4 separate regions of the Homo sapiens genome follow, and all the other regions are linked to region 3. The links are contacts of gene promoters, found by promoter capture Hi-C in blood cells and fetal thymus (Javierre and others, 2016). All regions are on one chromosome and are shown on one strand. Each heading gives the region's core, a stretch centred on a gene start or on the middle of the fragment in contact. The rest is flanking DNA. Distances are from core to core; before and after follow the strand shown. Region 1 has its middle 37 kb from the start of ENPP6. Region 2 overlaps LOC105377582 (a long non-coding RNA gene). Region 3 holds the start of IRF2 (interferon regulatory factor 2). Region 4 holds the start of LOC105377582 (a long non-coding RNA gene).

Region 1 (3,090 bases), core at 239-2,738, 220 kb before region 3:
TGCCACACTCGAATTCTCACAGGGCCTCAGCCGCCTCCCCGCAGAGCAGGGCTTGGAACCTGCAGCCCGCCATGCCCGAGCGGCCCACCCCCGCCGTGATGTGCTCCTGCACCGCCCGAGCCTCCCTGACCGGCACCGCCCCCTGCTCAGGGGCACCGGGTCCCATTGACCACCCATGGGCTGAGGAGTGCAGGCGCCGTGTGCGGGTCTGGTGGGCAGCTCCGCCCACGGCCCTGGCACGGGACCCACTAGGCGAAGCCAGCTGGGCTCCTGAGTGGGGTGGGGACTTGGAGAACTTTTATGTCTAGCTAAAGGTTTGTGAACACACCAATCAGCACTCTGTTTCTAGCTTAAGGTTTGTAAACACACCAATCAGCACCCTGTGTCTAGCTAAAGGTTTGTAAATGCACCAATCAGTGTTCTGTGTCTAGATAATCTGGTGAGGACTTGGAGAACTTTTATGTCTAGCTAGAGGATTGTAAATGCACCAATCAGCACTCTGTGTCTGGCTCAGGGATTGTAAACACACCAATCAGCACCCTGTCAAAAGGGACCAATCAGTTCTCTGTAAAACAGACCAATCAGCTCTCTGTAAAATGGACCAATCAGCAGGATGTGGGTGGGGCCAGATAAGGGAATAAAAGCAGGCTGCCCCAACCAGCAGTGGTAACCTGCTCAGGTCTTTTTCCGGTCTGTGGAAGCTTTGTTCTTTTGCTCTTTGCAATAAATTTTGCTGCTGTTTACTCATTGGGCCTGCACTGCCATTATGAGCTGTAACCGTCACTTCCTAGACCTGCCGCTTCACCCTTGAGGCCAGCAAGACCACAGACCCACTGGGAGGAATGAACGACTGCGGATGGGAGGAATGAATGACTACAGGCGCACCGTCTTAAGAGTTGTAACACTCACCGTGAAGGTATATAGCTTCAGTCCTGAAGCAGCGAGACCACGAACCCACCAGAAGGAAGAAACTTTGAACATGTCCGAACAGCAGAAGGAACAAACTCCCAACACACCATCTTTAAGTAAACTCTCACACTCACCACGAGGATCTGTGGCTTCATTCTTGAAGTCAGTGAGACCAAGAACCCACCAATTCCGGACACACCAGGGTCTTGTTCCTCAGTACTCCTTCCCATATTGAGAGGAGCTGGTCCTGCCATTCTCCCTGACACTGGCCAGGCATTAAGTATATTTGCAGGCTGAATATCTTTCTTGTGTTGTATGTTTGTCTCCTCCAGCACTACACATTCTGTGAATCTATTTGTAGCCTTTCAAGCAATTGATAAAACACTGATACTTTTGCCTCTGCCTCTGCATCTATTCCGTAGTGAGTTGCATCAAAACAAGACCCAACGCTTTCCCGTGTCGCAAGATGATGAGTGAAAAATTGAGCAGCGGGAAGCTAAGGAAAGAAACCTGTAGCCAAGAAGGCTCATGCCAGTGGCAAGATTAAGAAGGGTAATCTCAAACCCAAAGAGCCCAGGATGGGGAAGCCCCTCTGTAGCAGAAACCCTGTCCCATCAGGGGTATGGGCAGATATTCCTGACCTGCTTGTAGTCCAGAAAAGCCATGTACAAGAGGAAGCATTCAGCCGCTAAATCCAGATTTGGAAAAAAAAAAAAAATGGTTCTTGCTACTGTCACAAAACCAGCAGAGGATGATAAGAATGGAGGTGCCTGGATGGTAAAACTTCCGGAAATGCCTACCTATGTGCCTACTCAAGATGCGCCTTGGAATCATGGAGCCCTGGCAAACAAAACAAAACCCTTCAGTCAGAACGTGGGAAGGCTGCAGGCAGCCTCACTCCCCCGGGACTGCTCCCATCATCCTCACTGGGCGCCACGGAGTCCAGAGGGTGGTTTTCCTGAGCTGAGCAGTAATTAGACCTCTGCTTCTCAACTGAGTTCCTCTGTGTGGAACATACTGGAAATGTGTCATCAGCACCTCCATCAAAGTTGCGATGAGCAGTGTGAAAATCCCCCACATCTGGCTGCTGCACACGCACAGACACCAGGAAGGTGAGCACTTCCACACAGAGAAGGAAATGCGGCTTACACAGCAGTGCGAGACAGATCAGAAAGCTGTGGACTCACAAATGCTGCCCCGAACCAAAGCTGTCCCTCAGCTCTAGGGCTACCTTCATTCTGTGTTCTCACTCACAAACGCAATGTGTCCTGACCAACTGCGGTTCTCAATTTCTTGCAAAGAACCTAATTAAATAATGGATACATTTCAAACCAACCAACCAACCAAGCCTGGGTGCTTCTTGCAGAAAGCTTCCAGCCCTTTTTGCTGGATGGGAGCCCAGTCCTCACTGCTGCGAGAGGAGCAGGGGCAGAAACAATGAGTGCTGTCCCCAGCTGCCCCCAGCCAGGCCTCCAGGCCCAACTCCTGCTGCACCTAGGGGGCCGCCACCATGGGCTCCCAGGGACACACGCTTGCTGCCCAAGGGCAGTGTGAGCAGAAGGGCCTACTCCCTGCAGGCTTCAGGAGAACAAAGGCCCTGATTCAGGGCTGCAGTTTCCTGCTGCTGCTAGCAGAAGGCTGCAGGCCGGGCTCTCCTACCCAGGCAACATCACACTTCTGGCTTTCTTCACTGAGTCCCCAATAAATAGGAGGCTTTGAGCTGCAAAATGTGATGCTGTATTTCATGAAACCCCAGAGACCCCAAATGACTGCCCCTGTGCTTCTGAGGGGTTTCTTAAGGGTAGTGTGTTTCCAGGATGAGTTACAATACCTTTTGTCCCACAAGCGAGACACTTTTGCATATGTGCCACTCTGGTTCGGCCCGCGAGGCTGTAGCGGGGGCTGACACGTGGTATTTTTGTGGGGAGTCATTGCCATTTGCTTTGACTGAGACTTTTCGGAGGGCTTTGCTGTCAAATTTTCACTGCGCCTGCACGGTCAGTAAATACCCTCTTCCAGCCTCCTTCCAGGCTAAAAACCAGTGTGGAAAAGTTTAGTCGTGTGTTTGACGCAACTGCATCTCGTTGCTATGGAAACCCAGGCTGCTACATAAACCTAATTCTATATTCCTCTGGCTTATCCCACTTTTCACTAGCAATTTTAAAGGAGATTTTCACCTTC
Region 2 (3,153 bases), core at 266-2,765, 200 kb before region 3:
TGACCCAGCAATGCCCGTGTTCAGACTTTCCTAGGCCCTCAACCCTCTGGCTTCCCTCTTTTCCCACGTACATGGCTTGCTTTCTAATCTGCAACCATATTTTGATAAATACATCACAGGGTCAAATGAAATCCCCACCACCCGTTGTGTAAAACATTTGAATTGTTTGTAGATATGCCCAGTCTTGGAGAAAAAAATCAACTGTTGAGAATTTCTGGGTCATTTCCTCAGCACTGGATGTTCACTAGCAGATTTTAATCAACCCACACAGAGGCTTTGGAACTGTCATCTATGAATGTTACAGAAATAACAGAAATGGGCTTTCCGCTTCAGGGGTGGCCATCAGGGCCGGTAACCATGGTAATAACCAGAAGCACCCAAGCCACGTGGTGGATTCCTCTGGGCTCTGACCCGGGGGTCTTCATTTCTTGCACTCCCCTCCTGCTTTTATGTTTCTTTTACTGTCCTTTTTCCTCCTTCTTCTTGATTCCTTCCTGCACTCCGTACTCTGGAATTATTTCCAAAGGGCAGGAGCGTATCTGTGTCCCCTTGGTCCCCTAAGGCAGGCAGGCGTTTTTCTGCTTTGGTCCCTGCTGTGCCTGTAGTACTAGAACAGTGTCCAGCATACCACAGGAGCACGTTTGGTGAATGAATGAATGAATCAATCAATCAATCAATGAATCAGTCAGTCAATCAATCAATAAGGAGGCTAGCTGCCTGGGTACATAGTCACCATCATCACATTTAATACTCGCCAGGGTTACGGGTCAAAACCCGTGGGTTCTCCTGGCCTCACAGATGCATCAACAATGGGCAGTTTGGTTCTAGAATCTCATCCCTCCTCCAACAAAAAGCATTCATTGAGATGAAATAAAAGTGTCCCTTGTGACTCTACAGTTTCGGCTACCCTTCACTTCTCAGTCACTGTGAGCCAAGACCAGAGTTCTGACTCCTAGGAAGCCTCAGAGCTTGATGCAGCTTCCCGTCTGGGTTTCCAGAAACAACTGGGAGGCCAGTTGTTTTCTAGAGTTCTGTTTCCTCTGGCTTCACACCTATTCAGTCTATAAAAGTTGCTCAGCAGAAACCCCACCATCCCATCCCTATCTGTGGCTGTCGTAAAGGAGGCTGTCTTGAAGGCTGGGGGAGTCCTGCTGCCCTCCCACCTTCTGTTCCTGAGCTCTGTGCCTCCAGGCGGGAGGCAGCCCATACACCAAGGCAGCACTTGAGATCAGGTCTCCAGACATTCCCTGAACACCACTTGTGCACAAGCTCTTCTTTCTTTCTTTCTTTTGAGGCAGGGTCTCCCTCTGTCGCCCAGGCTGGAGTGCAGTGTTGCAATCTATCTCAGCTCATTGCAACCTTGACCTCCCAGGCTCAAGCAATCCTCCTACCTCAGCCTCCTAAGTACCTGGGACTACAGGAGCACACCACTATGCCTGGCTAACTTTTGGATTGTTTGCAGAGATGCAGTTTCGCCATGTCGACCAGGCTAATCTCGAGCTCCTGGGCTCAAGAAATCGGTCTGCCTCAGCCTCCCAAAATGCTGGGATTACAGGCATGAGCCACCACGCCAAGCCAGCAAGCTCTTGCAGCACAGAGATGAACGCCCCAAGGGGACACTTGGCCTAGTGATTGGCCAGATACTCCACCATGCACTTTTCATGAGTTTTCTCATTTAACCCTCGAAAGAACCCTCTGAGGAGTGACTGTTCTTAGCCCATTTCACAGATGAGGAAACTGACGCTTAGATAGGTTAAATGACTTGCCCCATGCCACAGAATTACTCAGCAGGGGAGTCAAAATGTGAACTCAAAGCTGACACTAAGCTGTGTTCTCTTAACATTCACAGGAACTCCGGGTGAGGACGACAAGAGCTGAGCTCGGGTGCTTGCCTTCTGCACTCTCGGGAGGAGGCACCAGCATGGGCACCCTTCACAGTTCGGGCCCCTCACTCACAAACGTCTGGCACATGGAAACAAGCTGGCAAAAAGATTGTTTTTTTCTTCTGTACTTTTTGTTATAAGCCTGTGGTGAAGTGTCCATATCTGGCATAAATGAATGTGAGTGGTCTTGGGAATCTAAATATAACATGTTTCTAAGTTACACACAGCATAAATGAGTGTTTATGAGTGGTCTTGGGAATCTAAATATAATACATTTCTAAATTACAACCAACCAACTTACAGGGGGCATTTTGGTCTTTAACCTGTTTATTAAATCAGACACTGCCTGAACTTTCCTCTGAAGGAAGAGAGGAATGAGTATTTACTGAATGCTAATTAAGTGCTACTCACATTACTGGAATGCTTCTCTCTGATCCACCAGCCCCAGGAGAAAGGCCCTGTCCTCATTTTGCAAGCGAGGAAATGGAGGCTCAGAGGAAAGGGTTTATCTTCCCCCTGGGCTCGGCAGAACCAACAGCCAGCCCCAACTCCACCCCAAAGCCTGGATGTGGCCGTGGCTCCAGAGTGGGCCGCCCCTTTCACCATCTGTGCATACTGGGTCGGAGCTGAAATCTGTGATCACCCTTCTGAGCCCTACCCCAAGGACACTGAATCATGTGGTCAGGCTCCCAGCTCAGCACAGCCCTGACTATCAGCTCCATGTGTTTAGCAGCCTGGCCCCAGAATCAAAGCCACTGTTGAGGACACTCAGTATGAAGGAGACCACTTCAGGCCAGTGACAGATTCTCTCCTGGACCAAACTCGACTGAGGCTCCCCTGAGCCCTCTTCTCAACTAGGCCTCAACCCTGGCCTAGAAAGACTTGGACAAACACTAGCATGGCTTCTCATAGCTCAAGGCCGCATCCCTAGGTGACCCCAGCCACCTTGGGTGTCCTTGGGAGGCAATCCCAAGGACACACAAGGCTGCCAAACAAGTTTGCCATTTGCTCCAGCCAACACCCAGAGATCGGGCCCCTGTGCCCCAGTCTGTGAGGGAGGCTGTTAACAAACCCAGGTGGGTTTCTCATGGACCAAGCCCGCTCTGCTGTTTGTAGTTTTCCACTTCTCTGACCCCACTGAGCCCTGGTCACCCCTGCCCAATTCTCTCACTCTCCCTTTAAAACGCCCAGTCTCTACTGCACAAATCAAACTGGAGTTCAGTCTGGGCTGGGCCTTCTCCCTATTGCAATAGATATTACAATCCTTCTT
Region 3 (3,349 bases), core at 557-3,056:
CGCTCTTCTGAGCTACCTCGGCCGCCAGTCCCCGGGATCACATCCGCAGCCGAGCGCCAAGGGTCCGGCCTACACAGACTGACCCGGGCGTTTCACCTGGTGCCCGACCACGGCTCTGGCGCCCTGCCCAGGCTGCCCGCCTCCTTCCCCTCCCCCGCTTCTTAGGGAACAAGGAGGAGAGGGTGGCAAACGCACCCAGACCGGGGGCCAAGGGGAGACGCCGGCGCGTGCTGGGAGGGGCATGAGTTACACCCGCGACCCTTGGAACTTGGAACGGCTTCCCCAGCCCCGGCGGACGCCGGCCCCCAGGCCGTGCCACTGGGAGCAGGCGGGCGCCGCGATTGGCCGCGGCCGGCTTCACTCGGTGGGCGAGCCCTACCGGCGAGGCGGAAAGGAAGTGGCGGCCGCCGCGGCTTTGCACCAACCATGTTCGGCCAGCGGGCGAATGTCACCCGGCGCCCGGAGCCGGGTCGGAGGGCACGGGGCGGGCACTCGCGTCCCCACCCCGCCGCGGCCCGCGCCCCGGGACCCCGAGGGGACGCCGGCCCCCACTGCGCCGCTCGGTCCCCGGAGGCTCCCCGCCCCCACCTCGCCCGCTCCGTAGCCGAGGCGGGTCAGGCCCAGCGCGCGAGGCCGGCCGGGGGCGCCTGCGGGGACCCGGGGGCGCACGGCGCTAGGCCGCGGCCCGGGCGGCTGACCCCTCGGCACGGTGCCTTCCTGGGACGCGCCGCCCGAGCCCCTGGCGCGCTGGGACAAGTGCAATGACAAAGCCCCAGGGCCCGACCGGGCGCTGGCCGGCGGGAAGGAGGACGCGGCGTCCCTTCTGAGCGGCGGCGGCGGCGGCCCAGCCCCCAGGAAGCAGGGCGCGTCGGCCAGGCCCGGCGCCCGGCCCGGCTCCGAGCCCGCCCTCCCGCCCCGGCCGCTGGCACCCGACGCCCGCGACCCGACCCCGAGCCCGGCAGGCAGGCGAGCCCCTGGACCGCCGCGGGGCGCCCCAGCAAGTTTCCTCTGGCCGTGGCTGGAGGCGCTCCTCCCGGCCGGGGAGCGGTGCCTGCTTATTTACGCTGGAGGCAGCCTGGAGAGGCGCCGCCGCGGGCACCGAGAAGGACCCGCTCCCCTCCTTCGGATCCGGTGGCGGCGGTGGCTGCACACACACACACGCGCGCACACACAAACACGCACATACACACAATTTTGTTTTAAATGAGGCCCGACTCCAGCTGACCTGCACCCCCACACACAACACCTGGGGCGCAGAAGCACACACAGCAGGTCTGTGTCCATGGAGCCACCTCTCCGCATCTGCAAATCCAAAAGTGAAATTAAACCTCCACCAACCTCCTCCTCCTCCTCCCTCTCTACCTCCTCCTCCTCCTCCTCCTCGCAGCCTCAGCAGCCCCAGTAGCAGCAGCAACAGCAGCAGAACCTGCTTCCCCTAAAATCAGATGATCCATAATTGCGCCGACTGTTCCTCCAAAAATCAGTATTAATATTTATGAACCCCGGCATTTTCCGTCTGCAAAACATCGTGTCAAGGCATCAGGACACGCATACACACACGGCCCCCCACAGTCCCCAGAAACATGCCCTCGAGAGAAACACACACAGTCACAACTATTATTTGAAAAATGTTACCTCTCAGTGTGCTTTTTTCACGCTACCAATACAATTCCGCAAGGTATAAGTGTTGCTAGGGTATGTGAAATGGAAATGAAAGCCCGTCAGTTGAATAATCGCAGGAGCAAAACTAAAAGTTACTCCCCGGCTTGCCTGAGAACAGTCCAGATCGAAAGCAAAACAAGGAGAGGAAACTGCGAAGAGCCGCGGCTGGAAATCCCCCCACCCCCCGCCCTCCTCCGGCCGCGCTCCCTCCCTCGCCTCCCCTCTCCGCCCTCCTCCCTCCGCCCTTCCTCCCCAGTGTTTGTTTCAAGCTTGTGCAACCGGGAGGTGGAGGCGGAGGGAGGGCGCGAGCGGCCCGGCCGGGAGGTGCGGAAGTTCGCCGCAGCAGCTCATTGGCGGGCAGCGCCGCTTTCATCATTTCTCGGAAAAGTCAATTTCATTTTCGCTTCCCCAGGTCGCGGCGGCGGGAGCAACAAGCAGCGGCTCGTGAGTCCGCGGCTCGCACCCAGGGGCGCCCGCACGTGCGGCTAGAACGTCCGAGTCGGGGTCCGGGGCGGGGGGCGCAGGCCCGCGGCGGTAGGGGAGGAGAGCGGGCACCCGAGTCTCCATCCTCAGGGTGGCCTGAAGGTTCCAGGAGGGCGTCCGGCGAAGGCACGGGGCTGCGACCATCCAGTTAGCAGGGCTGGTGTGACTGTTGAGAGTAAATGAAAATTCGTTTTGTGACACCGACCACCTCCAAGGAATGAAAGGAGCAGTCAGCCGAAACGACAGCATTACTTGCGTCCTTACCTAATTGGAACCTTATCCGTGGCTGAGGGTGCCACCATTGGAGGGGCCGCCGCCCCCTCTGACACCACCTGGCGCTCCGCTCCATTTAGGAGCTAGAACGAAAAGGAGGCCCATCCCCCAGTAAGTCACAGCCCACGCCAAGATGAGTTCTGGAGCCTGTGCGACCGAAGTTTCTTCACCGCAGGGCGAGGTGGACAAGGGTGTGAGTTACTTTGACTTCAAGACGTCTCAGTGGCGGCTGGTTCTGGAGAGAGGCTTTATGCTGGAGCACTTCCAGCAAAGTTCGGCTGGGGCCTCCTTAACTCACTGGCTGGTCACCCTTGGCCTCGGTTTTCAACCAAAGCCTAAGGCCTCAGTTTTCAACGCTGTAAATGGAAATAAATGAGAGAAGAAAGTACAGCCCGTGTGACAAGTGCAGCAAGCAATGCAACTTCCTTGGGACCTACCCTTTGTGGTCCCTTGCTTTAAAAGTATAGATTCACATTTAGTTAGACCTGTTTCTTCCTCGCATGCAATTTCACCAGTCTTTTCCCAGACTTCTGTACTCAACAGAGGAAGTTCCTTCCTGGGAGACCATAGCTGTTTGTATGTAAAGAGTTGCGAAAAAACAAAAGCAAAACAAAAAACTCCAACACCTCTCTGTCACAGAAGTATTGAATTATATAGACTGGAAAAATGGAAGTATCCAAGAAAACGCGTGTGGTAAGAAAATGGCTAAGGTGCAGGATTCTGTTTTGTGGCTCTGGTCTCAGAAATAGACCTCACATACACATTATTCCTTATCCCCTCTATTATAATACTCACTTTTTTTTTTTTTTAAGAGACAGGGTAGGCCGGGTGCAGTGGCTCATGCCTGTAATCCCAGCATTTTGGGAGGCCAAGGCAGGAGGATCACCTGAGGTCGGGAGTTTGTGACCAGCCTGACCAACATGGAGAAACT
Region 4 (3,042 bases), core at 274-2,773, 180 kb before region 3:
GTTTTTTACTGTGTGTGTGTGTGTGTGTGTGTGTGCACGCACGCCTACCTAGCCCTACCTATCTCATCTATCTAATCTATTGCTTTTAAGGTGGTATTTTTTCCAAGGTGTCTTTCTATAATAATTAAGCCAATTTATACTCTCACTACAGCATATATAAATGTTTTCTTATACTGTCTACAGAAGGGTTTTACTTTTGTTTTTTGTAGGGCAGATAAATAAATATAGTATCTTATTGATTTTACATTTCTTTCATTGAGAATAAGACTGGCTACTTTCATATCGTTTTTGACAGTTCATTTCTTTTCTTTTGATTAACAGCTTATTTTTTATTTCTACTAATTCTGTGTGTGGTTGTTCACCTTTATTTTTGTTCTTACCAATCTAAAAACTCTCACACAGGTTAAGAATGTCAGCCTACATCTGAGTGTCAATAAGGTGCAGATAGTCAAGGAATAATGCCTCACAGTGTAGTGACATGCTGCCACAGAAGAGGCCCCCAGGAAAATGCAGTTTGGGAGCCCCTTAAGCAAATATAACTTCATGGGAAGATTGTCCTTCTTTGGTCTCTGATATGGTTTGGATCTGTGTCTCCACCCAGATTCATTTGAATTGTAATTCCCAACGTAGGAGATGGGGCCTGGTGGGAGATGATTGGATCATGGGGGCAGTTTCTCATGCTTTTCATGGGGGCAGTTTCTCATGCTTTACTACCATCCCCCTTGGAGCTATCGTCCTGATAGTGAGTTCTCACATGATCTGGTTATTTAAAAGTCTGTGGCACCTCTCTGCTCTCTTGGTCCTGCTCCTGCCATGGAAGACACCTGCTCCCGCTTTGCTGTCCACCATGATTGTGTGTTTCCTAAGGCCTCCCCCAGAAGCAGAAGCTGCTATGCTTCCTGTACAGCCTGCAGAACCATGAGCCAATTAAACCTGTCTTAAAATACATTCCTCAGTCTCAGGCATTTCTTTCTTTATAGCAGTGCAAGAATGGACTAACACACTCTCCATATTGACACCTCGCTTGTAAAGCTGGCCGATGCAGCATTGCAATCAAGTGGTAGATTTTGAATGTCTGAGTGTGATTAGACTCTAGTTGTTTGTTGTTAAATGATTGGTCTGAGTGTGATTAGACTCTAGCTGTTTGTTGTTAAATGATTGGTGAATGATGCCATCACAGGCCAGAATGTCCAGCCAGCCTCCATAGCAGGACCATCCCCGCTTATAGGAAATGGAAAGGCTCAGAGACTCCAGAGTGGCCCAGCACTGCCCCTGCCGTCCACCAGCTGGAATCAGGGCAGTGCACCTCCCAGTCTGTGTGTGTGTATGTGTGAGTGTGTGTGTGTATGTCTGTGTGTGTGTATGTGTGTGTGTATGTGTGAGTGTGTGTACATATGTGTGAGTGTGTGTATGTGTGTGTATGTGTGTGCGTGAGTATGTGTGAGTGTGTGTGTATGTGTGAGTGTGTGTATGTATGTGTGAGTGTGTGTGTGTGTGAGAGAGTATGTGCGAGTGTGTGTGGAGGGGCGGGGGTCTTGCAGTTGGTCATAGCTGCCCTTTACTTTCTCACAGTGTGTGTATGTGTGTGTGTGAGTGTGTGTGTGTATGTGTGAGTGTGTATGTGTGTGTGGAGGGGAGGGGATCTTGCATTTGGTCATAGCTGCCCTTTACTTTCTCACAGTGTGTGTGTGTGTGTATGTGTGTGTGAATGTGTGTGTGTATGTGTGTATGTGTGAGTGTGTATGTGTGAGTGTGTGTGTGTGTGAGTGTGTGTGTGTGTGTGTGGAGGGGAGGGATCTTGCAGTTAGTCATAGCTGCCCTTCACTTTCTCAGTGTTTTTGTGTGTGTGTGTGAGTGTGTGTGTGAGTGTGAGTGTGTGAGAGTGTGTGAGAGTGTGTGTGTGGAGGGGAGGGGAGGGGTCTTGCAGTTGGTCATAGCTGCCCTTCACTTTCTCTTTTGGTCAAGAGTTCTCCCTTTCTCCTCGTTAGAGAAAGATTGCCTTTGTTTTGCCAGTTTCCTGAAAGTCTGTATTTTCCGGGTATAAGCTCACTCATTGAGAAGAAGAGAGCCTATCCTTTCACCTCTAGAACAAGAAAGCCAGTGGGTAGTAAAATACACATAATGAAAATGATGTGTGCCCTAAACTTCAGGTGAACCAGCGAGAGTGTTTTACAGCACACACTCCAACCTAGAATCATTCACACGGGTCCAAATCCCAGCTTCACTCTCATCGCTAGACATAGGGCTCAATGTTCCAAATTTTAGCTCTTCTCATCTCTAAAATGGCAATTATATTAGTACCTATGTTTAAGGCAGTTGTGAGGATTAACTGAATTTTGGTCCACCTATGGATGCTGGCACAGCAGGCATTTTATGCGTAAAGTCTCTAATCATTATTTCTCCATCTCAGAATAGAGGAAGATCTCTGTGGGTGGAGGACCCTTACCAAAGTAGTTGGAGGGGACATCTTAGGTCATACGACTCTCTTCTCAAAGACTCTTGTTATATAGGAGTCCTATTTGGTTAAAAGGACTTCTCTTGTTTGTCCTGGATGTGACATCAGGTTTAAAAAAAATCTCACTCCCGTTCAGGAGCCTGGCAACCATGCATTACCCAACAATGGTTACCGTGGCTGCAAGGAGGAAGCAGACAGCAAGCCCACAGAAGTGTTTATTGAAGAAAGGGAAGTCAATAGTCCCTGGAGTTAATGAGTGATTGTTATTTATGGAAGGAATGGTATTTGCAGATGGGAATGACTGCAAAATGCATAGAAGGACACAGCCATGCCCTTTCCACGGAAGTCACAGAGCACACCTCAACACACTGAGAAGACGTCCACGACAGAGAAAGATGACGAAGGTCTCCTTTCTTCCACATCGTAGGAGATTTTCTGCCATAAACTCAGTTTATTCTATAGTTGTTTATGTCCTCAGCATTTTGGAGACAGCTGTTCTCATGAAGTGAAGACTGGCTCAGATTGTTTGATTAATTGCAAGAATTGTGGAAACGGGAGGAAGAATTCATGAAGGATGCCTCCCTTAC

What was found. Contacts are between HindIII fragments. The CHiCAGO score rates a contact against its expected background, and 5 or more counts as called.
Region 1: a fragment that was not itself captured here is called in contact with the fragment with the promoter of IRF2 in region 3 in 3 of 17 cell types (M1 macrophages, M2 macrophages and neutrophils); the score reaches 6.5 in M1 macrophages.
Region 2: a contact is called between a fragment that was not itself captured here and the fragment with the promoter of IRF2 in region 3, in 8 of 17 cell types (naive B cells, M0 macrophages, monocytes and 5 more). The highest score is 9.7, in naive B cells.
Region 4: a fragment that was not itself captured here is called in contact with the fragment with the promoter of IRF2 in region 3 in 5 of 17 cell types (naive B cells, neutrophils, monocytes and 2 more); the score reaches 8.9 in naive B cells.

The regions. Positions count from the first base shown.
Region 1 is chr4:184,253,134-184,256,223 of GRCh38, forward strand. It overlaps the pseudogene RPL6P16. Among named protein-coding and RNA genes, the nearest start is that of ENPP6, 37 kb to the left of the region's middle. The HindIII fragment of the contact is 1,578 bases long and covers 700-2,277 here.
Region 2 is chr4:184,272,160-184,275,312 of GRCh38, forward strand. All of the region lies in intron 4 of LOC105377582 (a long non-coding RNA gene), which reads right to left. It overlaps LOC105377584 (a long non-coding RNA gene), which reads left to right. Exons shown (of 2, transcript XR_007058414.1): 2 at 1,850-2,103. Among named protein-coding and RNA genes, the nearest start is that of MYL12BP2, 41 kb to the right of the region's middle. RefSeq lists enhancers at 1,594-1,643, 1,934-2,103, 3,041-3,153. The HindIII fragment of the contact is 4,221 bases long and covers 1-3,153 here.
Region 3 is chr4:184,472,744-184,476,092 of GRCh38, forward strand. IRF2 (interferon regulatory factor 2) reads right to left here and starts at 1,807. Exons shown (of 9, transcript NM_002199.4): 1 at 1,636-1,807. It overlaps IRF2-DT (IRF2 divergent transcript), which reads left to right and starts at 2,059. Exons shown (of 1, transcript NR_186573.1): 1 at 2,059-3,349. RefSeq lists silencers at 66-135, 196-885, 966-1,015, 1,826-1,945 and enhancers at 1,976-2,165, 2,516-2,845. The HindIII fragment of the contact is 7,048 bases long and covers 1-1,929 here.
Region 4 is chr4:184,291,103-184,294,144 of GRCh38, forward strand. LOC105377582 (a long non-coding RNA gene) reads right to left here and starts at 2,510. Exons shown (of 6, transcript XR_939552.3): 1 at 2,447-2,510. LOC124900825 (a long non-coding RNA gene) reads left to right here. Exons shown (of 2, transcript XR_007058413.1): 2 at 2,592-3,042. The HindIII fragment of the contact is 9,454 bases long and covers 1-3,042 here.